7 separate regions of the Homo sapiens genome follow, and regions 2, 3, 4, 5, 6 and 7 are each linked to region 1. The links are contacts of gene promoters, found by promoter capture Hi-C in blood cells and fetal thymus (Javierre and others, 2016). All regions are on one chromosome and are shown on one strand. The core of a region is centred on a gene start or on the middle of the fragment in contact, and the rest is flanking DNA. Distances in the headings are between cores, read along the strand shown. Region 1 holds the start of DLX2 (distal-less homeobox 2). Region 2 has its middle 80 kb from the start of CYBRD1. Region 3 overlaps PDK1-AS1 (PDK1 and ITGA6 antisense RNA 1). Region 4 has its middle 8.8 kb from the start of DYNC1I2. Region 5 overlaps DYNC1I2 (dynein cytoplasmic 1 intermediate chain 2). Region 6 overlaps PDK1-AS1 (PDK1 and ITGA6 antisense RNA 1). Region 7 overlaps DYNC1I2 (dynein cytoplasmic 1 intermediate chain 2).

Region 1 (3,529 bases), core at 440-2,939:
TTCACCCGCTTAATCAGTAGCGAGAGGTACGGGATTTCTGTCCACCCGGTCCCTTTCCTTCCCTCCCACGGCGGCCCCTTGGGGGTTTCCAGCTTTGGGCCTAGAAGCTTACTTAGGGCCGCTCGAGGCGCAGGCCTGGAAATCCTTAAAAGTACTTAAAATGAACTTTAAAAAGCATTGTCCTAAACCCGCCTGCTTCCCAGCCATCTCAGGCCCGCGCTCTCCTCGCCCCTGCAGGGCGCGAGCCCCACCTGAGTCTGGGTGAGGCCCAGAGAGGCCGCCAGCTCGGCTCGCTCCGGCAAGGCCAAGTATTGAGTCTTTTGGAAACGCCGCTGAAGAGCCGCCAGCTGGAAACTGGAGTAGATGGTGCGGGGTTTCCGGACTTTCTTTGGCTTCCCGTTCACTATCCGAATTTCAGGCTCAAGGTCCTCCTTCTCTGCAACGATAAAGAATCGTAAGAACAGCGCAACCCAGGGGTCCTGGAGTTCCCGCCCTCCTAGAGGGCCCGGCGGGGGGGACTTGGCTTGAGCAAAGAGGTGGGTGCACTGAACTGTGGCGCCACGGGCAGGCGCAACTTCGCAGCGTGCGATCGGAGCCGCCACCGACCCCGGGAGCTGTACCCTCCAGGGAAGGGGGAGACAAGTGCACACCCAAGAGAAAGAAGCTGGTGGCAAGGAGATGCCCTTATGAGGCAGGCAGAGCACGCCCACTTGGCTCTTGAGGCCACCAGGTCCTACCAAAGGAGAGAGGGACGTAACCGGCGACCTGCGGCAGATTGGAGGCTGGGGAGGGTAAAGGGCACAAGCGGGCGGTGAGCAGGCAGCGTGAAAATCCAGAGCTTTCGAAGGCCCCCCGCCCCAAACACGTTTACCCATCCATCCCATTAACTAGACCGACTCGGCACTCTTGACTTCAGCGTTATGCATACCAGGCTCGTTGTTGGCTGGGGACGAACTGGTTCCATAGGGAGCGTAGGAGGTGTAGGCGGCGGTGTAGCCCAGGTCATAGCTGCTCTTGGCGGAGTAAGGGACGTTGTTGAGGCCGCTGGCTTGGTACTGGTAGGAACCCATGTGCGCGTAGGGCGAGCCCCCGCCGCCGCCGCCGCCCGCCGGGTGCTGCTGGTTGGTGTAGTAGCTGCTGTCGGTGGCGGTGGACACCGGAAGGGTGGGCGACTCCTGGGGCTTGTGGAGGCTGCTGCTGCTGCTGCTGTTGCCACCCGGGCCGGCGCCGCCGCCGCTCGGGGGCTGCTGGTGCTGGTGGTACGTGCTGGAGGCGGCGATCTGGGTCGAGTGCATATCAGCCACTAGACTGTCAAAGACTCCAGTCATCCTGGCCCGAGACGGGAAAGAGCAGAGGTGGCGGGCGTGCGGGGGAAGCCAGGCGCCTCCTCTGTCTCTCCCGGTCCCCTCCAGCAGCCAATGTAATTACGGGGGTGGTGGTGGGGAAACAAGAAAGGAGGCAACCGTCTAGGCGCCTCCTCCTCCGGGGGAGGCGATCACCGTGCGCTGCTCGGGACAGCTGCCTCTGGTCGCATCCTCTTTCGGCCTCTGGGCCCGCTCGGCTCCTTGCCCAGCGCGAGCGCGGGCTCTGGCGGGGGGCGGGCAGTGGAGGGGGCAGGGGTGGCTGGGCCGGGTCGGGGCTCTGGGAGGCGGGAGCAGGTGAGCGGCCCCGAGCGGCTTTACGATTGTCTGCCAGGCGGGCTCCTGAAGTGTGGGCATTTAACACTCGTCACGTGAGCGCTGGCGACGTCACCTAGCAACAGCCAATCAGAAGCAAACGGCCGCGGAGCTCCGGGAACGCCCGGCCAAGGGGCGGGCGTCACATGGTGGGCGCTGTGGCTGCGGCTGCGGCTGCAGCGGCCCCAGGTGCAAACAGACTGCCGCCGAATGTGAGCAGCGAGGCGAGGGGTCGAGGTAGCGAGGAGTCAGGGTGGCCCGCAGCAGGAAGACAGAAGGCGTGGAGACAGACTGGCGTTTTGCCTCAGAGGAAGAAGTGGGGTCCCCTCTCCCATTCTGTGAGCAAGTGCCAGTTCCAGTGATTCGTACTTTCATGTCCGAGGTCAGTTTTCAAACACATTAAAGTACATCGGTGCCCAGAGTCCAGCCAGCTCTATCTTCACTTTTCCTCGAAGTGTCTGGCATTTATTCTTGTTAGCCACTCGGCACTTGACATAATCAATTGATTTAATTATCCACAAACCACGTGTAATGCTCGCTTCTTAACCAATCCGCAGGGATATTAGGACAATTAATCATATAATATTGAAACGGGTTTTCCTTGTTGCTTCAAAGAGAAGCTACATAAACTTAAAGGTATTATTGCTAATAGTATATTTGAAACCACTTTCCCTGGTACTTTCCCGACACGCGAGACTCTGAGTAATTATATACGTTTGATAAGTAAATGACACCCTGAAAGCCATCCCGAGGACTTCCTCCTTCGGGTGGAAAGGTTCACCAGTTGTCCTTGAAAATTCGATGCTCTTGCGAAAAAGGAAATAGGATAATAGGTGAGATTATAGATTTATCAAGTAGATACTAGATTTATCACTTCTCTGTAAATTTACAACAAATATAAAAAGTTTTATCTGGTTTGTTGAATTTAATCCTGTTTTACAGTTTTGCATTTTAGGACCCTGTTCTACCCTATCATTGCAATTTTTTTCTTTTCCCTCTGTTTTTTAAAAAATCGGAAATGGTGACTTCCTCTGTCTCTATAACCTTGTAGTTGGAAACCTTGGCCCGACGGTGATGGACTGCACGACTTGCTGGACTCCCAAGTCCGAAGTTCCTGCGGCAGCGCTTGCTTTGTGGCGCCACCTGGTGGGCAGTGTGCGAGGTTGCGGGGGGCGGGGTAGACGGTCTAATCACGCCCAGGCGCCAGCCTCTGAAACCCCCCAAAAGAACAAAATAGTAATTAAAAGCCACAAAATTGTGCTAGTGCGCACCATCTGAAGCACCCTTTCCTAAAGACATAACATGTCGCTGAAAGAACTTGTTAAAACAACTGTCTGATAGAAAACAAGTTGATACCTTCAAAAATATGATCTTTGGTCTTCTTCCCCATAAAAAGCAAGTGTGTAATTAAAACTCCAGCATTCACACAGAGAAATAATGAGATAGGTAATGCGCCTTTAAGTCTACCTGGATTTAGTTCCCAGCTTTTTTTTGGTTAAGGAAGGCCCCTAGATGGAAAGCGCCAGCTTATGAGAAACGTTGGAGGTGGAGCTCACCTCCACCCACCTGCATTGCTTTATGCGGTTCTCTGCCTACTTTGTGGGCCTCAGCTGCAAAACCAACCTCTTGATATTGAAACATGATTGCCTTTTGGTGTTTTTTTGTTTGTTTTTGTTTTTTTGAGACGGAGTCTCACTCTGTCACCCAGGCTGGAGTGCAGTGGCGCCATCTTGGCTCACTGCAACCTCCACCTCCTGGGTTCAAGCGATTCTCCTGCCTCAGCCTCGTAAGTAGCTGGGATTACAGGCGCGCGCCACCACTCCCGGCTAATTTTCGTATTTTTAGTAGAGATG
Region 2 (3,529 bases), core at 459-2,958, 500 kb before region 1:
CCGTGAGCCATGATCGCACCATTGCATGCCAGCCTGGGCAACAGAGCCAGACCCTGTTTTGTTTTTTGTTTTTGTTTTTTTTTAATTGATTTAAAGAATGTTAAAGCACGTGATTGAATATGGAAATATCAGGAAAGATGTTTACCAAAATACCTTTGTGGCTGTCTTTGGATGGTGGGATTTCAGGTTTTTGATCTTTATAATTTTCTGTATTTGCTGCCTTCTGTGCTGCCCAAAGCTGCTCTCCCTTCTCCTCACCTCACCTGAATTTTTGTGTTGTTCTGCGATGGCGCCTCTTGGCCTCCAGCTTCCATAACCTTCCCAAGTGCTCTGCCCCAGATATCCCCACTTTTAACCAGCTTTTTTTCTCTTTAAAAATTCTCTGGACAAAGTCTGCTCCTTCTGGCCAGATGTGGTGGCTCACATCTGTAATCCCGGCACTTTGGGAGTCCAAGATGGGAGGATCACTTGAGGCCAGGAGTTCAGGAGCAGCCTGGTCAAGATGGTGAGACCCTATCTCTATTTTAAAAATTAAAAGATACGTCGGCACAGTGGCTCACACCTGTAATCCCAGCACTTTGGGAGGCAGAGGTGGGTGGATCACCTGAGGTCAGGAGTTCAAGACCATCCTGGCCAACATGGTCAAATCCCATCTCTACTAATAATACAAAAATTAGCCAGGCGTGGTGACACGTGCCTGTAATCCCAGTTACTCAGGAGGCTGAAGCAGGAGAATTGCTGGAACCTGGGAGGCGGAGGTTGCAGTGAGCTGAGATCACTCCACTGCACTCCAGCCTGGGCGACTAAGGGAGACTCCATCTCGAAAATAAAAATAAAAGAAAGTCTCCTCCTTCTGTTGTTCTCACACACTTCGCGTTGGCATCTTCCCTTCCACACACATTCTAAACTCCAAAGGGCCTTGATGATGAGGAGGCTCTTTGAAGAAAATCTCTAGTCAGCCCAAGCCTAACCCTATCCCTGCAAAAATCATGTTGTGGTTGGAAGTGTGGATTACTGGTAAATATTGCTGTGTGGAGAAGATTACAAAGTTTTTTTTACCTGTCAGAAAGTAAAAATATAAGCTTAACCCTGTAAGCTTATATTTTAAACTTTAAACTCTATAAACTCCCTGTCAGCTAGAAATGTTCTAGAAAACATTATTTAAAAGCTGGGATACTCCCTAGAGAAAAATTACCTTTACTGCCATGTTAGGCAAAAACATCTGATGAGGCACGGTGTTCTGTGTAAAAACTGAGGTGGTCCCAAACATGGACCAATAGTTAAATCATTTATTTCTTAATATAATACCCTTTGCCTGGTCCACAAAGTAAATTAACTTGTAAATCTAATGAGTACATGAAAATCTCAGCAAGCTCATCTGTGATCCACTCTCCGTCCATCTTCCAGCCAATCCCTCAGCTGCCTGAGGAGGGTCTCAGCCCCGGAACCCTCAGGTCCCTTCTCACCTCTTCTCCTCTAATTGACCTGCCCTCCCCTCTTCCTTCTCCTACTTCCTTCTCATCCTCAGATTTGAGAGGCGGGAGGGGATGGGAGACTGATTATGACTTGTTAGAGGGTGACGGGTCCTGGCCTTTTTCCTTTGTTTGTTCCTGAATCAGGAGACAATGATCTGCTACAAAGGGCAGGGGCCTCTTCATGGATTAGATGAACACGATCATTTCCCATTGTTTTCTTTACCATCTCACTTTCACATGTAACGTACTCATATGCACAACTATTTTTAAATAATAACCATTTGCTTATTGACTTTGTAAATAATACCTGCTTGTTGAAATAAAATAAAGCCAAGTACAGAAAATTATAAAGACAAAAAACACCTGAAATCCCGTCATCCAGAGACAGCCACATTCATATTTTGGCAGCCATCTTTCCTGATTTTTTTTTTTTTTTTTGAGACGGGGTCTTTCCTGATATTTCTATATACAATCCATGTGCTTTAACATTCTTCAAATCAACCTTGGCTAGAAAAAACAAAGGGTAGGGGTTACTGATTTAGGACACATATGTCCATGTGTCTTGCCTTATTGCTAACAAGCCACTTAGAAAGAACTTTTCCAGAAATTCGAATTGCCCCTTTTAGATTCCCCATAATTTATTTTGTTCCTCTTTTCCCCTCTTTCCTGAGCCACCTCCTCCAGAGGCACCTGGGTCACTGTCGGAAAACATATCAGAGCTGGTTTCTTTCTCTTGTTTCTTTCACGTTGTGCTTCAGGGACTCCAAGGCCACCTTCTCTTTTTCCTTTAGAGCAGTATTTTTGTTTTTATGCCAAGACGTTTTCCAACTTAGAGGTCATTTGTGGGAAGCTTAAAGGGAAAAAGCGTCAGTTTCGTGTTTATGTAAGAATTTGAACACCTGATATTTTTCTTGGGAGCCTTTAGCATATTGTGGAACTTGTGGATACCTGTGATATGCAAGAGGAGAACTTCTCTGCATCTTCACCTCTATAAATATGTAAAATAAATATTTGAAAGCCAGGAAGTGACTTTGACTTAATTGTCTTCCCCTATTTTTTTTTTTTTTTTTGAGACAGAGTCTTGCTCTGTCGCCCAGGCTGGAGTGCAGTGGCGCAATCTCGGTTCACTGCAAGCTCCGCCTCCCGGGTTCACGCCATTCTCCTGCCTCAGCCTCCCGAGTAGCTGAGATTACAGGCACCTGCCACCACACCTGGCTAATTTTTTGTATTTTTAGTAGAGACAGGATTTCACTGTGTTAGCCAGGGTGGTCTCGATCTCCTGACCTCGTGATCCACCCACCTCGGCCTCCCAAAGTGCTGGGATTATAGGCATGAGCCACCGCACCCGGCCTGTCTTCCCCTAGTTTTAAATTATGAAAAACAAAATCATTACAAATATCAATGGTTCTTAAATGTTAGGATAAGTGATATTCATGAGAGGATGGCTTATTTTGTTTTTCTTTGTTTGTTTTTTTTTTTTTTTTTTAGACAGTCTCATTCTGTCGCCCAGGCTGGAGTGCAGTGACATGATCTCAACTCACTGCAATCTCCACCTCCCAGGTTCAAGGGATTCTCCTGCCTCAGCCTCCTGAGTAGCCAGGACTACAGGTTTGTGCCACCACGCCTGGCTAATTCTTGTATTTTTAGTAGAGATGGAGTTTCACTATGTTGTCCAGGCTGGTCTCCAACTCCTGACCTCAGGTGATCTGCCCGCCTCAGCCTCCCAAAGTGCTGGGATTACAGTCATGAGCCACTGTACCCAGCCAGAGGGGGTTACTCAATAAGCACATTCTTAGACCTGAACCCTAGAAACCCAATCAAGTAGTCTGGGGTGGGCCCCAGAATCTGCATCTTTAACAAGCACACCAGAGAATTTTGAGGAAGTGGCCGTCTTTTGTGGCCTTGAATTATGCCCCCTAGTAAGATATGCTGAAGTCCTAAGCCCCGGTACCACTGAATGAGACCTTATTTGGAAAAAGGGTCTTTGCAGATGTAATCTAGTTAAAATGAGGTTATATTGGATTAGGGTGGGCTCTAAATTAAATGACTGGTAT
Region 3 (3,529 bases), core at 497-2,996, 450 kb after region 1:
CCCCACAAAAGACAGATTTGCAGGGCCATTTCAAGATATGGCAAAAAAACATGTTTTGGGATAAAATATTTTGCTTTTCTTCCTTGTCATGTAATGTTATTCCAGAGTCAGGGTGAAAAGTAAGTCTCGATATATAGGGTTAAATAAAACCCATCTGATGAGAATTTATGGTTTGTAGGGCATGACTCCCCAGAACTCTTAGATAGGAATTTGGGCAAGATAAAAAAATCAGAATTTACTCCTCAGTAGCAACACATGACAGATAGCAGGTCCTGAAATAAACTGAAGTGTTTTACTACAAAACATATTTTTTTGACATATTTTGAACTAGCCCTGCAAAGCTATTTCTTCTGGGGAAAATCTATATTCTGTAGAGGATCCCCTTCCCTTTCCAGGTTTTTCCTTTTAAGGTCTGACACCTTTTTAGGTCTGATAAGAGACATTTACTATCTGTTCTCTCTGAAGCCTGCTATGTGGGACCTTTATCTGTGTAATAAGAATCTTGGTCTCCACAACCCCTTGTCTTAATCCAGACACTCCTTTCAATTGATCCTAGGTCTTGAGATAGTAACTTAACTCTTTCAACCAATTGCCAGTCAGAAAATCTTTGACTCTCCCTATAACCTGGAAGCCCCCTCCTGCCACAAGTTTCCCAATCCCCCTATATTACGTCTTAAAGTTGTCCTGCCTTTTCAGACCAAAGCAGTGTACGCTTTACATGTACTGAGTGATGTCTGCCTGCAACTTCTGTTCCCCTAAAACTGTACACAATCAAGCTATGACCCGACCACCTTGGGCACATGTTTTCAGGACCTCTTGGGACTGTGCCTCAGGCCTTGGTCACTCACATTTGGCTCGGAATAAATCTCTTAAAATATTTTACAGAGTTTGAGTCTTTTTTTTAAATCAACAGTTCAAATAAATTTTTAAAACTTTTAATGTGCCCAAATTTATCTTTTAACATTACCAGTCTCAGTTTGTGAAAGTCTAGAGTTCTCCCTGTCCATGTCTGTAAATTCTTGAGGCTCATAGTCTCATTTATAGTACCCCCCACCCCACCACCACTCAGACTCTTTGTGTGCAAAGTCTATCTCCATTGCCACAAACTCTCATAAAAAAAATTCATCCTTTCCTCCAATTTTCACAAAAGCACAACACATAAAAGCTTCAGTATCCAATAATCTCTCTTTTTTTGCAAACTTTACTGAAGGTTTGGGTTATAAGGAGTGCTCACATTGTGAACAGTCTTTGCAATCTTCTGCCTCCTCCCCTTCCCCTTTGCTCTACAAAGTGAATTCCTCTCCTTGCTTCCTGTAAAGCTGTTCTGAGCCTTCCCTACAGATCTCTCCTTCCACTCCATCAGCATTTCAAAGCACTTACTCCAGATAAAAACTATGTTTGTGCTAAATAAATCCTGGTGAATAGGATGCCCTCATATCACTACACAAGTAATTACCTGAATCAAAGTACCCTTTAAAGAAAGAAGGCAAATGTATATGGAGAAAAATTATGCTTCAGTGGAATATTACGTATTGTTTAGAGCACAACTTTTCAGGGTATCTGATTCCAATTCACTGTCTTTGAGCTATTTTACAACTCTGTAAATTGCAGATAAATGGTAACAACGCACATAATTCTTACCTATACATGTGCAAATAAATTCTGTCAGGTAGAAGGGCAACCCTCCCTGATTCCCAAGGAAAGAGCCAGTTTTACAGCCTTTGCAAATTTTTCTGAATTCCTGTTTTTTCACTTCTCCTTTGAACTGGCTATAATATCTTTACTGGTTCCCTCATTTAATTAATGTATTAAATAAAATTTTTGACACATGTTCATTTTATAGCTGCATGAGAGTCATTATTTTACCTTTTTTGAAAATTATCTTTCCAGCATATCAAAAAGGGTTCTAGGGCAGGAAATGATAGCACACTCAAAAGGGAAATTGATTAATTAATTAATGAAGGGACTATTTACAGGAGTGTGGGCAGAATTAAACCTCCAGGGCTGGTGAGCACCCAATCAGCAACAGAGAAAAATTAGTACTATCTCTATGGATACTGGACAAGGGTAGGAAGCTATGGCCACACTTAGAGGAACACAAATTATAGCTTGGAAGAAAAGAAGCAGGGGGAAAAAATATGACTTTTCTTTCCTTTTGTCTTCTGAACCTCATGAAGCCAGAGGGTACTGGGGACAAGGTGACACAGTCTAGCTTGTTTTGTATTGCTTTTTCCATTCCTTTCAGTCACATCAGTCCAACATGGATCACAAATTCTCAGTGAATTTACAGGGGCTGGCTCATGTCTGCTATGTAAAAATTTTTTTATAGAAGCTTACAGTATGATTACACTTTATATCTACATGTGTGTCTTAGTCTGTTAGTGGTGCTGTAACAAAATACAGTCTGGATAATTTATAAATGACAGAAATTAGTTTTCTTACAGTTCTAGAGGCTGTGAAGTTCAAGATCAAGATGCCGGAACTCAGTGTCTCATAAGGGCTTTCTTGCTGTGTCCTCATGTAACCATCCAATAGGTTTTTCTTGCCTGCTGACCAGATAGAGCCAATTTATCAAGACAAAGAGTTTAGTGCATGTGGAGCTGGCTAAACAGAAGATGAGTTTTATTACTACTCAAATTAACCTCCTGAAAATTCAGAGGCTAGGGTTTTTTTATAGTTTGGCAGACAGCAGGCTATAGAATGGGGAATGCTGATTGGTTGGGTCAGGAATAAAATTATAGGGAGTCGAAGCTGTCATCTTATGCTGAGTCAGTTTCTGGAGGGGGCCACAAGACCAGATGAGTCATTTTACTTATCTGTGTGGTTCCAGCTGGTCCACTGGAATTCAGGATTTGAAAAATAACTCAAACACCAATGTTAGGTTTTATAATAGCAATGTTATCTATAGGAGCAATTGTGGAGGTTGGTGATCTTGTGGACTCTGGCTGCATGACTCCTGAGCTATAATTTCTAATCTTCTAGTTAATTTGTTAGTTTACTTATTTTTTGAGACAAGGTCTCGCTCTGTCACACAGGCAGAAATGCAGTGGCAGGATCTTGGCTCACTGCAAACTACACCTCCTGGGCTCAAGTGATGCTCCCCACGAAGCACTACAGGCAAGTGCCACCATGCCCAGCTAATTTTGTTCATTTTTTGTAGAGACAAGGTCTATGTTGCCCAGGCTGGTCTCGAACTCCTGGACTTACACAATCCTCCCATTTTGGCCTCCCAAAGTGCTGGGATTACAGGCATGAGCCATTGTGCCCTGCCTAATCTGTTAGTTTAACAAAGGTGGTCTGGTCCCCAGGAAAGCTGGGGATTTGTTTCATGGAAGAGCTCTTATCATCTTTGTTTCAAAGTTTGTAATCTAAATTCCTCCCAAAGTTAGTTTGGCCTATGCCCAGGAATAAACAAGGGCAGCTTGGAAGTGAGAAGCAAGATGGAGTTGGTTAGGTCAGATCTCTTTCACTGTCAAAATTTTCTCACTGTTATAATTTTTCAAAGGCAGTTTCACTCACATGGTAGAAG
Region 4 (3,529 bases), core at 443-2,942, 420 kb before region 1:
TCCTTGTAAATATTCCTCAAATCTATTCCCAATTCTCTCATTGTCTTCTTTTATCTCATTGTTTCTCACTTAAATTATTAATTGGTCTCCCTACCTCTGGTCTAGATTCCCCACTCATCCATCTTCTATACAACTACCAAAAATATATTTTTTCAATTTTTTACTTTTACTTTTTAATTTTGTAGGTACATAGTAGGTATATTTATTTATGGGGTACACAAGATATTTTGATACAGTCACGCAATGTATAATTATTACATCAGGGTAAATGGTAACCTCAACCATTTATCCTTTGTGTTATAAAACAATCCAATTTATACTCTTTTAGTCATTTTTAAATGTACAATTAAATTATTTTTTACTACAGTCACCCCGTTGTGCTATCAAATGCTAGTTCTTTTCATTCTTTTTAACCATTTTTTTAATACCCATTAACCATTCCCACCTCTCCCCTACCCTCCCACAACCCTTCCTAGCCTCCGGTAATAATTCTATTCTCTATCTCCATGAGTTCAATTGTTTTGATTTTTAGATCCCACAAATAAGCGAGAACATGCGATGTTTGTCTTTCTATGCCTGGGTTATTTCACTTAACATAATGACCTCCAGTTCCATCCATGTTGTTGCAAATGACAGGATCTCATTCTTTTTTATGGCTGAATTGTATTTCATTGAGTATAAGTACCACATTTTTATCCATTCATCTGTTGGTTGATTCCAAATCTTAGCTTTTGTGAATAGCGCTACAGTAAACGTGAGAGAACAGATATCACAAACATTCCTATACACGAACAACAGACAAGCAGAGAGCCAAATCATGAATGAAATCCCATTCACAATTGCCACAAAGAGAATAAAATACCTAGGAATACAGCTAACAAGGGAAATGAAGGACCTCTTCAAGGAGAACTACAAACCACTGCTCAAGGAAATCAGAGAGAACACAAACAGATGGAAAAACAATCCATGTAGATTCTAATATCCAGAATCTACAAGAAACAAACCTGCACATCCTGCACATATACACTAGAAATTTAAAATAAAATAATTAAATTTTGATCTTTATGCCCAAATTGTGTCATTGATCATTAGTGCTCAACACTATAGTTGAATACAATAGTTCGACTGTTAATATTTGTTGTTATAGTATCATAAGTATTATACTTGGGATGCCCTATAACCTGTCAACAGGACAAAGAAATAAATCCAAAGGAATCAAATTTTTTAAAATACCACTTTCTCTTGGCTTTTTTGTTTTGTTTTGTTTGGGAGACAGGGTTTCGCTCTGTGGCCCAGGCTAGAGTGCAGTGGTACAATCTCGGCCCACTGCAACCTCCACCTCCCGGGTTCAAATGATTCTCCTGCCTCAGTCTCCCGAGTAGCTGGGACTACAGGCACACGCCACCACATCCAGCTAATTTATTGTACTTTTTAGTAGAGACAGGGTTTTGCCATGTTGGCCAGGTTGGCCTCAAACTCCTGACCTCAAGTGATCCGCCCAATTCAGCCTCCCAAAGTGCTGGGATTACAGGCATGAACCACTGCACCCAGCCACTCTTGGCTTTTCTTCTACCTACTTTTCTCCATTACTTTTTTAATATTCACTTCTTCTCACCTATTCCTTGAATGCTGGTGTTCTCCAGGATTCCAAAGAGTTATCTTCTCCTCTTTTTATGTACATAATCCCAAATCATTGTTATTCATATCCATCTCCAACTATTATTTATCCATATGTATATGACTCTCAAATCTACATTTCCAGCCCAGCATCTCTCTTGAACTCCAGATCCATATATGCACCTTCCTACTGTATATCCGCAACTTAATGTCCACTAGCAACTAAAGTCAAACATTTCTCAAACCAAGTCACTATTTTTCCTTTCCTTGTATATTCTCTAATGGCATCCAGTAAGCCAAGATATTGTCTTCTATTGGAGAAGCACTTCCTCTTTCCTTATCTTAGGTTTTTTTGTAGTGGGATCTTTCCAGAGTACCACCCTTGGCCTCTCTCCATCCCCTCCCTTACTCCTCCCTGCAGGAGGAGGAGAGAATTATCTCATTAGTGAATTTGGGAGAAAAAACCTTAGTACATGCAGCTTCCTACTTTCTCTCTACTTTATTATTTCCTTTGGCATCTGTGCACCTAAAGAAAGTGCCCATGCATTGCTGTCTGTTCTCTGCTATGGGTTTCATACAAGCAGGCCCTCCAAGGAGAACTGCCTGAGTTACTTGTCCCTGCCTCTGTCTCTCTGTCTCTGTCTCTTTCTCTCTCTCAAATAGTTCTAAATTTGGCTAGAGAAAATGCAGTGTTACATATGTACCCCATCAAATACAATGCCTTTAAAGAATTCTAAAGTCCTTCATCTCCCTCTACTTCCTTATGTCTAATCAGTTCACAATAAAGGGCAGTGCTGGATCATTGCTCAGGGGGCCCAATTAAAGGATTCTAACTATTATTAGAATTAATTAGAAACATGGTGCCAATTAACTCAGGGTTTCCCATGCAACTTCTTATGAGTGGCAAAATGTACATTGGTCTCATTCCTGGAAAATATTGTCCTTGAATAGTAACAAACAAAACACACACACACACACACACACACACACACACACACACACACACACTCCTTACAGGCATTGTTCCAATCCCCATTGAGTGTTTTGTGACATGTAGCTACCTTGAGATGAGCTATTATTTACCTGAAGCCAGTAGCTCCAGTCAGCTGAAACTGAAAACTTAACAATGTATGGTTGCCTACCGGGAACAAAGTGCTTACTTCTCAGAATTAAACCACCTGTAACATGTCATCTGATACCTTCCCTTTGCCCCTCCAGATGCACTTTCACCCTTCTCCACCCTGATTTCGGCCTCAGGAGGCTGACCTGGGTGAATGGTCTCCTGTGCCTACTGGCTTCCAGTAGGGTTTGGCCAACGGGAAGCCCCAGGAGGAGATCAGAGTGACATCAGGGTCACTTATTTCCTTGGTTTCCTCCCTATGAGGTCACCTTGAGCTGCCTGGGCTCAAGATACCTCACCCTGTAAAATGTTCTTGAGTCAGGTTTCTGTTACTCTCTCTCCCTTTCTTCAGGCCTTGTGGGTGTTGACGCCCCTGCAGCTATGGGCTCTGAGCTCGTTCCCGCAGTATCACTTGTGGTTCTCTCACACCCTCTCATACCTGAGAGTACTAGTATTTTTCTATGATTTCAATGAGTTTTGGGAATGTCAACATTTATTTATTTATTTATTTATTTATTTGAGATGAGATCTCACTATGTTGCCCAGGCTGGTATTGAACTCGTGAGCTCAAGTGATCCTCTCGCCTCGGCCTCCCAAAGTGCTAGGATTACAGGCATGAGCCACCACACTCGGCCCCTCAAAAATAATTTATAAGTAGCATCTTTATTAATTCAAATGTTTTGCTACAGAGCTGCTTGAAAACAATATATTGAACATCACTCCTAGTTTTCCTTGTTTACTTTGTTACAATGAGAAAAGCAAGATTACAGTTTGTGATGTCTTAACTGTTAG
Region 5 (3,529 bases), core at 626-3,125, 410 kb before region 1:
GAGGTCGGGAGTTCAAGACTAGCCTGACCAACACGGAGAAACCCCGTCTCTACTAAAAATACAAAATTAGGTGGGCGTGGTGGCGCATGCCTGTAATCCCAGCTACTCAGGAGGCTGAGGCAGGAGAATTGCTTGAACCTGGGAGGCAGAGGTTGTGGTGAGCTGAGATCTGGCTATTGCACTCCAGTGTGGGCAACAGGAGTGAAACTCCGTCTCAAAAAAAAAGAAAAGAGGTTTAATTGGCTCATGGCTCTGCAAGCTTTACAGGAAGTATGTTGCTGGCTTCTTGTGGCAAGGCCTCAGGAAGCTTCTAATCATGGCAGAAGGCAAAGGGGCGTCAGCATGTCTCATGCAGTGAGCAAGAGCAAGAGGTGGGGGGAGGTGCCACACAGTTTTAAACAAAACCGTGAGGGATCCGCCTCCATGACCCAAACATCTCCCACTAGGCCCCACTTCCAACACTGGGGATTACATCTCAACAAGAGATTTGGAGGGGATGTCCAAACTGTATCAATGGCCCATCTCCATCATTAATTCTTGAAAGACCATTCTTTAGGGTTTGTGTATGTGTCCCTCATTTCTCATCTCTAATTCCATTCTCATTCCCACTAATGCATTAAGTGACCACTTTTGCAGTTTTTGTTTGTTTATTTGTTTGGTTTTTGGTTTTTTTTTTGAGACGGAGTCTTGCCCTGTCGCCCAGGCTGTAGTGCAATCACGTGATCTCAGCTCACTGCAACCTCCACCTCCCGAGTTTAAGCGATTCTCCTGCCTCAGCCTCCCAAGTAGCTGGGATTACAGGCACGTGCCACCACACCTGACTAATTTTTTGTATCTTTAGTAGAGACGGGCTTTCACCACGTTGGCCAGGCTGGTCTCGAACTCCTGACCTCATGATCCGCCTTCTTCGGCCTCCCAAAGTGCTTGGATTACAGGTGTTAGCCACCATGCCCGGCCCACTTTTGAATTTTTAACATACATCCTTCAGATTATCCTCTGTTTTTCAAGGTTTCACATATCTCTGTGTATATATACTTTATATATATAAATGGCATAGTGCTGTATGTCTTTTGTTTATTCCATGTTGCTATATACGTATTTAGTCATTTATTTCTAATATATAATATCCTATTATGTACCACATTTTACTTATCCATTCCCCCAGTGCTATGCACTCAGTTTCCTTTTGTCTCTTTGCTTTACTATCATAAGCAACACTGCAAAAAATATGTGTTTTTTCCCTTGAGGACTGTGGAATACTTTCTCTGGGGTGTATCCCCAAGAATTTACTTGCTATGTTATTGTATATAAGACTTAGCTTAATTAGGTTCTGCGTGTCACTCTCCAGAATGGCTACAAAGTTTACCCGCCCGCTACCAGTGCATGAAAAAGTAACTGCTTTACCATATTCACATGATGACTGGATATTATCCAGCTTTCTAATTTTTGCTAACTTGATGAGTATAAAGTGGTACACCAAAATGTTTTAATATACATTTATCTGATTACAGTGAGGTTGACCACCTCTTTATATATCTTTTAACCATTCAAGTTTTCCCTTCTGTGAACTGCATATTCATGTCCTTCTCCCCATTTACTATGATTGAGGTTCTTTATCTTCTGATGTATAGGCATTCTTTGTGTATTTTGTATATTTTAGGGAGGACTTTTGTCTGTTTTAGTCTTTTTAAAAACCCTTCTAATCTGTTAACTGCTTATAATATTCTTCATTGAACAGAATCCTCTATTTTGATATGATCAAATCCTTCATTTTGATATGATCAAATCTAGCAATTACAGGCTAAGTATTCCTAATCCAAAAATTCAGCATTCAAAATGCCCCAAAATCTGAAACACTTTAAGCACCAACATGACACTCAAAAGAAATACTGATTAGAGAATTTCAGATTTCAGATTTTTAAGTTAGGATACTGAACTGCTAGGTATAATGCAAATAGTCAAAAATCCAAAATAATCTGTCACCTTTGGTCCCAAACATTTTGGGTAAGGGATACTCAACCTGTATAACCCTTTTTTGTGTGCTTTTGGTCTTTTTTAAAAAGAAATTGTTTCCTACATTGTGGATGCAAATATATTCTTCTATGTTTTTCCTATTAATTTTATAGTTTTACCCTTCACATGTAGATATTTGGGTTATATTTTTAAAAATAGTATGAGGTAGGGATCCAACCTAATTTTTCTCTATATAGGTAGCTAATTTTCTCAGTGCCATTTGTTAGTCTATCTTTTCCCCCACTGAAGTCCGATGCCAACTTTGTCATACAGTAAATTCCCATATATTTATGGGCATTTCTGGGCTCTCTATTTTCACTATGAATCTATTTGTTTGGTTCTACACAACCCAGTTTTAATTACTGCACCTTTGTATTATATTCTAATTTCTGATACAGAAAATCACCCCCTTTGTTCCTTTTACAAAATAGTCCTAGGTTCACAAACATTTTTCTTTCCTCAAGAAATTTAGTTTGTTTCCCTCCAAAGTGTTGCTGTACCATACATACATTGCATTGCTATATGTTTTTATTTTTCTTAATTATTATTATTATTATTATTTTTGAGACAAGGTCTTGCTCTGTCACCTCGGCTGGAATGCAGTGGTGCAACCATGGCTTGTTATAGCCTCAACCTCCCAGGCTCAAGCGATCCTCTCACCTCAGCCTCCCAAGTAGCTGGGAACATAGGTGCACACCACCATGCCCAACTAATTTTTTTGTTTTGTTTTTGTTTTTGTTTTTTTTTATAGAGATGGGGTCTCACTATGTTGCCAGGGCTGGCTTTGAACTCCTGGGCTCAAAGCGATCCTCCTGCCTTGGCCTCCCAAGGTGCTGGGATTACAGGCATGAGCCACTACACCCTTCCTAATTTTTAAAAATCTTGAATATTCTCCACACACATACTACTTTTTGCCTCATGATATCTACTTGTTGAAGAGGGTGGGCCAATTGGTTTGTAGACTGTCTCCCCTCCTGGGTTTGTCTGATGGCATTCTCACATTTAGCTTTTATCCCTTATATTTCCTTTAAACTGGAAGTTAGATTTAAAAGCTCAATTTTGATCTAATTCGAACTGTGTGTGGTGGTTCACACCTGTCATCCCATTACTTTGGGATATGAGAGAGAAAGGAAGAACGAAGAAAGATATTTGGGAGGCTGAGGTAGGTGGATCACTTGAGCCCAGGAGTTCAAGACTAGCGTGGGCAACATGGCAAGACCCTGTCTCTACAAAAAAAAAAAAAGAAAAACAAAATTAGCCAGGCATGATAGCAGGCACCTGTAGTCCTAGCTACTGTGGAGGTTGAGGTGGGAGGATCAATTGAGTTTGCAAGGTCAAGGTGCTGGCCATGATCGCACTACTGAACTCTAGCCTGAGCGACACAGCAAGACCCTATCTCAAGAAAAGAAAAGAAAAGAAAAGAAAAGAAAAGAAGCTTGATTCACTTTAGGCTGAACTTTTTTGGCAAGAAAATCTCATAAGTGATGTTGTGTCCTTCATATTGTATCATATTAGT
Region 6 (3,529 bases), core at 316-2,815, 410 kb after region 1:
ATTTAAGTGAGTGTTCTGTTAAGATCCTGTCATTGTGAGAGGGATGTGATTTAATAATTATTTTCCAGTTGGAAGTAAACAGATGTTTAGGGATGTTAGGCTCTGGGGATATACGTAAGACACTGGCTCTGACCTTTTATAGGAAGCTTATCTGAAACTACAGATGGTATTGACAAGCATAAGTGAATTCACTTTTTATAGGTAGCAGAATTTAAAACCCTAAGATATCAATGATTGACACATAAATTCAATACCTGGCCAGGCGTGGAGGTTCACGCCTGTAATCCCAGGACTTTGGGAGGCCGAGGCAGGCAGATCACATAAGGTCAGGAGTTCGAGACTAGCCTGACTGACATGGTGAAACCCCGTTTCTACTAAATACAAAAAATGAGCCGGGTGTGGTGGTGGCACATGGCTATAATCCCAGCTACTTGGGACGCTGAGGCAGGAGAATCGCTTGAACTGGGAGGCAGAGGTTGCAGTGAGCCAAGACTGCGCCACTGCAGTCCAGCCTGGGCAACAAAAGCAAAACTCTGTCTCAAAAAAAAAAATAAAGTCAATACCTGAACCTTTGTGGGCAGAACTTGCCCCCAGAACAACCCCATTCCCAGAAAATTTAGAGTCATTCTTAAGCAGGTCTACACATTTAAATCACCAAAGAAATACATTTATTAAAATCCCGATGGCTGGACAATCTGCCACACTGACTACATGAGAATCTGAGTGAGACCCAGAAATTAGCGCTGCTTAAAGCTCCCCAGCTGACTCGTAAAGTGCAGCCAGGATTGAGAACTACTTTAGAGATTATTGGATGTTGTGAATATTTATCAAAATAATATGCTCACTGTGTGGAATGCCTCGTTCCTGTTTGTGGTACTTCCACTGCACCAGTAACAGGAGCTGAGAAGCTAGAGGTGCATTTGCTATAGGCAGGGAGGCAGCTGAGCGGTGCATAAGGGCATGTCTCTGGAGCCACGCTGCAGGTGTGAATTAGCTTCTCCTCTTAGAACATAACCTTGGGTGAGTTACGGATATCTCTGTGCCCAGTTTCTTGGCCTGTAAGATAAGTGCTCACTCAGAGGTTCTTTTTTTTTTTTTTTTTTTTTTTTTTTGAGATGGAGTCTGGCTCCATCGAGACGGAGTTTTACTCTTGCTGCCCAGGCTGGAGTGCAATGGCACGATCTTGGCTCAGTGCAACCTCTGCCTTCTGGGTTCAAGCAATTCTCCTGTATCAGCCTCCCAAGCAGCTGGGATTATAGGCGCCCGCCACCATGCATGGCTAATTTTTTGTATTTTTAGTAGAGACGGGGTTTCGCCATGTTGGCCAGGCTGGTGTTGAATTCCTGACCTCAGATGATCCACCCCTGCTTCGGCATGCCAAAGTGCTGGGATTACAGGTGTGAGCCACCATACCCAGCCCAGAGGTTCTTGTAAAGAGAAAATTGGACCATCTGGAAGTGCTTACTAGTTACTTTTATACTTACCCTTGTTTATTATATAGAACCATAAATCTTAAAAAGGGAAGGAAGCATGGAAATCTAGTTCTACTTCCTCGTTTCACAGATGGGGAGACACGGTTTATTTTTATTGTCACGGGAACCTTTTGTCTCCTCATTCTTCAGTGTCTACCAACTTAAGTCTTACTAGTGGGTGTTATAACTACAAAAAAAAAATACGATGAACCTCTTAAAGTCCTTATCAACATAGATCATTCTGAACAACGACAAGAGTGACCTTATTTCTATGTTAAATTCTGTCTCAACCCTTAATACAGTGACCATAATGCAGTCTTCGGTTGGGGTCAGAAAGATGACATGTTAAGATAATCAACAAAGCATCTTGAAATCGCTAGGTATTGAATCTTTGTGTTTTTCTCCCCGCTGACATGGAAGAGTGTGAAAAGAGCAGATTCTCTTTTTGAACCTTTTCTCAGAGTTCTTTACACACCATCGATTTCTTTGGTTTCCTTTAGTGGGAAGGCAAGCCACAGTTTTACTGCTTATTACCTTTACTGCTGTGCAGAAGAGGAAATGCTCACAGAGCTCATCTTGCACCTGAGTTACACCATGTGTGTTAGAACGGAGTTTGTCACTGGAAGAACAAATTTGAAAACTCCTGCCTCCCACATGTCACAATAATGCATGGACTGAAAGACTATGTAAAGGCAAAAAACATACATATACATGCATTCTTCCATAGGAAGATTGGGGGACTGCCTGATGCCAAGGTGTCCTCAAATTGCTGATGGAACTGAAGTTCTGGGGTTCTTACCTGAGGAAGCCACTGGTGGTCAGGAAGTCTCAATTAGAGAAGTTAAGAGCAGTCTTTCTCAAAATTTAACATGCCTAAGACTCACCTGAGGATCTTGTTGATTCAGGTTCTGATTTAAACAGTCTAGGAAACAGCCTGAGAGTCTACATTTCTAACAACCTCCAGGTGTTGCAATACTACTGATCTATGGATTACTCTTTGGGTGTCAAGGGTCTCTAGAGCCAGTCTTTATTCAAGTCCCTATTGTGTCACTTTTTACTGTATGACCTGGGCAAGTTTAAATGCCTGATGCCTTAATTCCTTCACCTGTAAAATGGCATAAGGTATAATGGTATAAGGAATAAGATTATAACCTAGGCTTACACTGTCTTATGTCTTTCTACACAACTTCCAAACCCCTAACATCCTCAAATGTGTGGATAAGGACTGACTGGGGTGCAGTTAAGTCTGTTTATCTAAATATATAGCTTTCACCGTCTTGACAGGATAGCTGACATTTGTTGTAGGCTACTCTTACAGGCCATGCTTTTAAGATTCCTGCCCCGTGAGAAGGAAAATCCCATGACAGTGAATAGCATTACAACGGAATGGGAAACAATGTGCCAGTTCTAGTAGCTGACCCACAGAAGCAGTGACATGTTGATCTGGTTATAAAGACTTATCTAAATCAGTAATGAAACAAACACATTGAACAGGTTCAGGATGACTTAAAGAGAAGCTTTTGCAACTTGACATTTCCTTTCTCAAGCAGCAACTCAGTGTTTCTTTGCCTGTGCCTACCACGAACAACCCAAGTACTCATGCCAGAAAACACACACACATAAATTAATAAAACTCCTAAGCCACTGTGATACATATCTGTGGACTGGCTTGCTCTATTCCATACTTTTTCTAGTTGGAAGGGCTGAGGTGCTAAAAATACCTTCCCAGACTCCCTTGCAGCTAGGGTTGTACATATGAATTTTTTATTTTTATTTATTTATTTAGAGACAGGGTCTCACTCCATAGCCCAGGCTGGAGTGTAGTGGTGCAATCTTGGCTCACTGCAACCTCCACCTCCTGAGTTCAAGTGATTCTCTCACCTCAGCCTCCCAAGTAGCAAGTAGCTGCAATTACAGGCACCCACCACCATGCACAGCTACCTTTATATTTTTAGTAGAGATGGGGGTTTCAGCATGTTGGCCAAACTGGTCTGAAACTCCTGACCTCAAGTGATCTGCCTGCTTCAGCCTCCCAAAGTGCTGGGATTACAAGAGTG
Region 7 (3,529 bases), core at 641-3,140, 390 kb before region 1:
CTTTTATTTTTGTTTTGTTTTTTGCTTTTTTTTTTGGCATATTTTCTTAGTGAAACGTTAGAAAACTAATGCTTTATAGTTTCTGTATGTCTCTTTTTTAGAGTTTTAAAACTTGTTCTTTTAGAAGTTAGTGTTGTAAGCTGTATGTATGGTTTTTTAATTTTGTTGACATAGAGATAAGATTATCCATCCATTCATTCATTCAGTTATTTATTCTAGATTCTAATGCAAATTATAAATGTTTGCTGCTGCCATTTTGCCTGACTCAGATAGCCCTTTTCCCCTGATAATTTACAGCTTCAAAAACATATGAATATACCTTTTGGAATTGTGTCTAAAGTAAGGTAAATAAGCCTTGATTTGAGGCATGTAAGAAAAATATATGAGTTTCTTGTACTTGAACTGGAAGCCCTCTGTAGTGGCCACACTGAGGCTTCCCCCTCCTGCCTCCCATTGCTTCCTTATTTTCAGTAAAAGTGGCTTTTGGATAAGTGAGGTATTACTTCCCTACCCACCTCCTCCTATAAAATCTTGGAATATTTCGTTTGTTTAGTATTATGGTTTTTTCTGTTAGACTCTGTATGCATTCAAGTTGGTAATTGATTCCTAATATTGTTGGCTTGACGATTTTTTTCCAGCTATGTGAGTGATTTACTTTTTATATAATTTGCATCTTAAAAATCAGAATATAAAGTTTCTTATTTCAAATTTTATTCTTAGACTTCTAGATTACTTCAGATTACTTAAATTGTCCACTTAATTCTTTGACTATACTTTTTTTTTCCCTTTCTTTTTTATTTCTAAACTAGAAAAGACATTAAAAAATTGTTATGGCCCACATTTTGGAACATTAATTTTTAAAATGTACTAATTTTATTATACTTTATAGTACTTTGTTATGCTTTATTAGATTGTATAGGACTTGGATTTAGTTACTAAATAGAACTGAAAAGAATATTTATATAAGAAAAAAGTTATATTACCAGCGATAGCCTGCTTTATATTCTGAAAGTTGCAGCAGTGTCTTTATTGTATATCCTTTTAAGGCAGCTTCATCACTGAGAACTTTTTTGGGAGTCTGGAAGCGTACTTTATTTGGTTTAGGATTTAAACATCTAATAAAACCAATAAAAGATCTCCCAGATAGCTAATAAAATATATTTTTCTTTTGGTTCATTTTCCTCAGCCACAGCTCTCTTCCATTGTCAAAAAAGAATGTATACCCTGTATTTCTAAACAGAAGTGACTTTAGTAGATTTATGGTATTCAAAAGATCTGTCACTTTAGTCTAAGTGTAGAATATCTGGACCTTAGTTTCTCCATAATGTGAATCAAGGACAGTATTGATCATGCAGAGATTAGAGATTTAAAAGTTTTAAATATTTCATTTTAAAGTCCAAATTGATAGTGTAATTCTCAATTTCTGCCAAATATAAGTAGAAAAAAAGCTTTCAACAGAAACCTGTTTTTCAGTCGTAAAGCTGAATTCTCCTAGTGGCACAATCAGCTAAATGTGGTCTGAGTGATATCTAGTCTGATTCTTAAAAAAAAGTCCAGAAAGAACCATATCCCAGCTGAAACCAGTTCTTACGACAACCTTATTCAGTGGTCCACTCTGAAGTTCCTATTCTCTTACTTCATTATTGCCCGCACATTTGTTCTAAAAAAATGAAATTACTTGCCTTTTTAAAATGAAAATAAAAACACTGAATGATTCAGAAATATCTTTTGCTTTTGCTACCTTCTCATTCTTTTGCTAAAATAAAGCCAATTTATTGTTAATCTAAAATTTCTTGAATAAAATGGATTGAAATTACAATGTTGGGTGCAAATGACTGTTTAATTCTTAATTTTTGAAAATAACATGGTTTGATGTAGTTAAAATTGTGTTGTTTGTATTTACTTAATTTAGACGAGGACCTATTAAACTTGGAATGGCTAAAATCACGCAAGTCGACTTTCCTCCTCGAGAAATTGTCACGTATACAAAGGAAACTCAGACTCCAGTTATGGCTCAACCCAAAGAAGGTGAATATCTATCCTTAGTATAATTGTCATTGAGCACCTATGTTAAATACATAGATTCTTTTTTTCTTCCTTTGATTTTTGTTTTGTTTCTTTTTTGCTTTTGTGTTTTGGCATGTTTTCTTAGGGAAACATGAGAAAACTAATGCTTTACAGTTTCTGTATTTATGTCTTCATTTTTTCGAGTTTTAAAACTTATTAGAAGTTAACGTTGTAAGCTGTATGTGTGGTTTCTTAATTTTGTTGACATAAATTTAAGTCTTTCAGCCCTTATTTTGTCATTAATGTATACTGCTTTTAGAAGCCAAAAAGCTTAAGAATTTTCTGTTTCTGTCATTGAGCATAATTCTTCCCCAAAAGAGAGTGGGTCCCATAGTAAACAAAGTCATGTAAATTATTTCTGAAAAGCATACTGTACCCTGATGTTATTCATACTAATGAACAAATCTAGACTTAATTCTTAAATTTTCTCTTTTATGATATAGGGGCTCTATTTTGTTGATTAGTTAGTAGCCTGTAATTTGTGTATAGTATGGGGACGTATGCACAGACCTATTGAATGTGGAGACCCTTTGGTTCTTAAACCAGAAAGCATTACAAATAGCTAACGATTCAAGCATAAAGTACTACGATCTCATTTTCCCAGTGAGGCTAATGAATTTATATCATACAAAAAAAAAAGATTTATGTGAGATCCCTAATACACTTCACAGTGTCTTTTCTGAAGCTTTTGGGGCCATATATATATTAGAATTCCAAGTTTTTCAGATTATGTAAAAGTAATAAAATATATGTATTATATGTTAACACTCTAGTAGTATTTTGGGCATTAATATTTTGGCAGCAAAACATATGAACATACTAAGTGAGATAAGTAATGATTATAAATAGCTTTACCTCTGACTTTACCATGTCAGAGTTTACCACCAAATGAGTTATGGATTTTAGAGCTGTTAACAATTTTGGAATAGAAATTTTATCAGATGTTTAAATTAATGTATTTTTAAATTTTTAATTAAATTACCATGTTTCTCCATTAAGGAAAAACAAAAGTTATATTCATTGCAGAAAGCCAGGAAATACAGGTAAGCAAAAGTGAGGAGAAATCCTTGAAATCCCTGTCTACTACCAAAGAAAATCTTTAAATTTTCATATTTGCCTAAACCTAAAAAAAAGTTAGGATTGTGGCCGGACGTGGTGGCTCACACCCGTACTAGCACTTTGGGAGACCAAGGCAGGTGGATTGCTTAAGATTAGGAGTTCAAGACCAGCCTGACCAACATGGTGAAACCTTGTCTCTACTAAAACTACAAAAATTAGCCGAGCGTGGTGGTGGGTGCCTGTAATCCCAACTACTCTGGAGGCTGAGGCAGAAGAATTGCTTGAACCCGGGAGGCAGAGGTTACAGTGAGCCAAAATTGCGCCACTGCACTCCAGCCTGAGCGACAGAGCAAGACTCCGTTTAAAAAAAAAAAAAGAAAATTAGGATTGTAACTATTTACAA

What was found. Contacts are between HindIII fragments. The CHiCAGO score rates a contact against its expected background, and 5 or more counts as called.
Region 2: a fragment that was not itself captured here is called in contact with the fragment with the promoter of DLX2 in region 1 in 5 of 17 cell types (megakaryocytes, M0 macrophages, monocytes and 2 more); the score reaches 8.3 in megakaryocytes.
Region 3: a fragment that was not itself captured here is called in contact with the fragment with the promoter of DLX2 in region 1 in 1 of 17 cell types (fetal thymus); the score reaches 5.1 in fetal thymus.
Region 4: a contact is called between a fragment that was not itself captured here and the fragment with the promoter of DLX2 in region 1, in 1 of 17 cell types (erythroblasts). The highest score is 6.2, in erythroblasts.
Region 5: a fragment that was not itself captured here is called in contact with the fragment with the promoter of DLX2 in region 1 in 2 of 17 cell types (erythroblasts and megakaryocytes); the score reaches 10.6 in erythroblasts.
Region 6: a fragment that was not itself captured here is called in contact with the fragment with the promoter of DLX2 in region 1 in 1 of 17 cell types (non-activated CD4 T cells); the score reaches 6.3 in non-activated CD4 T cells.
Region 7: a contact is called between a fragment that was not itself captured here and the fragment with the promoter of DLX2 in region 1, in 6 of 17 cell types (megakaryocytes, erythroblasts, M0 macrophages and 3 more). The highest score is 15.8, in megakaryocytes.

What each region holds. Positions count from the first base shown.
Region 1 is chr2:172,101,211-172,104,739 of GRCh38, forward strand. DLX2 (distal-less homeobox 2) reads right to left here and starts at 1,690. Exons shown (of 3, transcript NM_004405.4): 1 at 929-1,690; 2 at 252-436. The coding sequence starts at 1,328. DLX2-DT (DLX2 divergent transcript) reads left to right here and starts at 1,796. Exons shown (of 5, transcript NR_126376.1): 1 at 1,796-2,058; 2 at 2,728-2,822. RefSeq lists a silencer at 1,492-1,691. The HindIII fragment of the contact is 7,057 bases long and covers 106-3,529 here.
Region 2 is chr2:171,601,035-171,604,563 of GRCh38, forward strand. No RefSeq gene overlaps it. Among named protein-coding and RNA genes, the nearest start is that of CYBRD1, 80 kb to the left of the region's middle. The HindIII fragment of the contact is 1,229 bases long and covers 1,095-2,323 here.
Region 3 is chr2:172,550,163-172,553,691 of GRCh38, forward strand. All of the region lies in intron 1 of PDK1-AS1 (PDK1 and ITGA6 antisense RNA 1), which reads right to left. Among named protein-coding and RNA genes, the nearest start is that of PDK1, 4.2 kb to the right of the region's middle. RefSeq lists enhancers at 1-153, 2,659-2,953 and a silencer at 2,659-2,953. The HindIII fragment of the contact is 1,167 bases long and covers 1,164-2,330 here.
Region 4 is chr2:171,676,872-171,680,400 of GRCh38, forward strand. No RefSeq gene overlaps it. Among named protein-coding and RNA genes, the nearest start is that of DYNC1I2, 8.8 kb to the right of the region's middle. The HindIII fragment of the contact is 9,909 bases long and covers 1-3,529 here.
Region 5 is chr2:171,694,442-171,697,970 of GRCh38, forward strand. All of the region lies in intron 3 of DYNC1I2 (dynein cytoplasmic 1 intermediate chain 2), which reads left to right. Among named protein-coding and RNA genes, the nearest start is that of DYNC1I2, 8.7 kb to the left of the region's middle. The HindIII fragment of the contact is 3,141 bases long and covers 306-3,446 here.
Region 6 is chr2:172,508,758-172,512,286 of GRCh38, forward strand. All of the region lies in intron 1 of PDK1-AS1 (PDK1 and ITGA6 antisense RNA 1), which reads right to left. Among named protein-coding and RNA genes, the nearest start is that of ITGA6-AS1, 44 kb to the left of the region's middle. The HindIII fragment of the contact is 2,843 bases long and covers 145-2,987 here.
Region 7 is chr2:171,713,416-171,716,944 of GRCh38, forward strand. DYNC1I2 (dynein cytoplasmic 1 intermediate chain 2) reads left to right here. Exons shown (of 18, transcript NM_001378.3): 7 at 1,913-2,028. Among named protein-coding and RNA genes, the nearest start is that of DYNC1I2, 28 kb to the left of the region's middle. The HindIII fragment of the contact is 889 bases long and covers 1,447-2,335 here.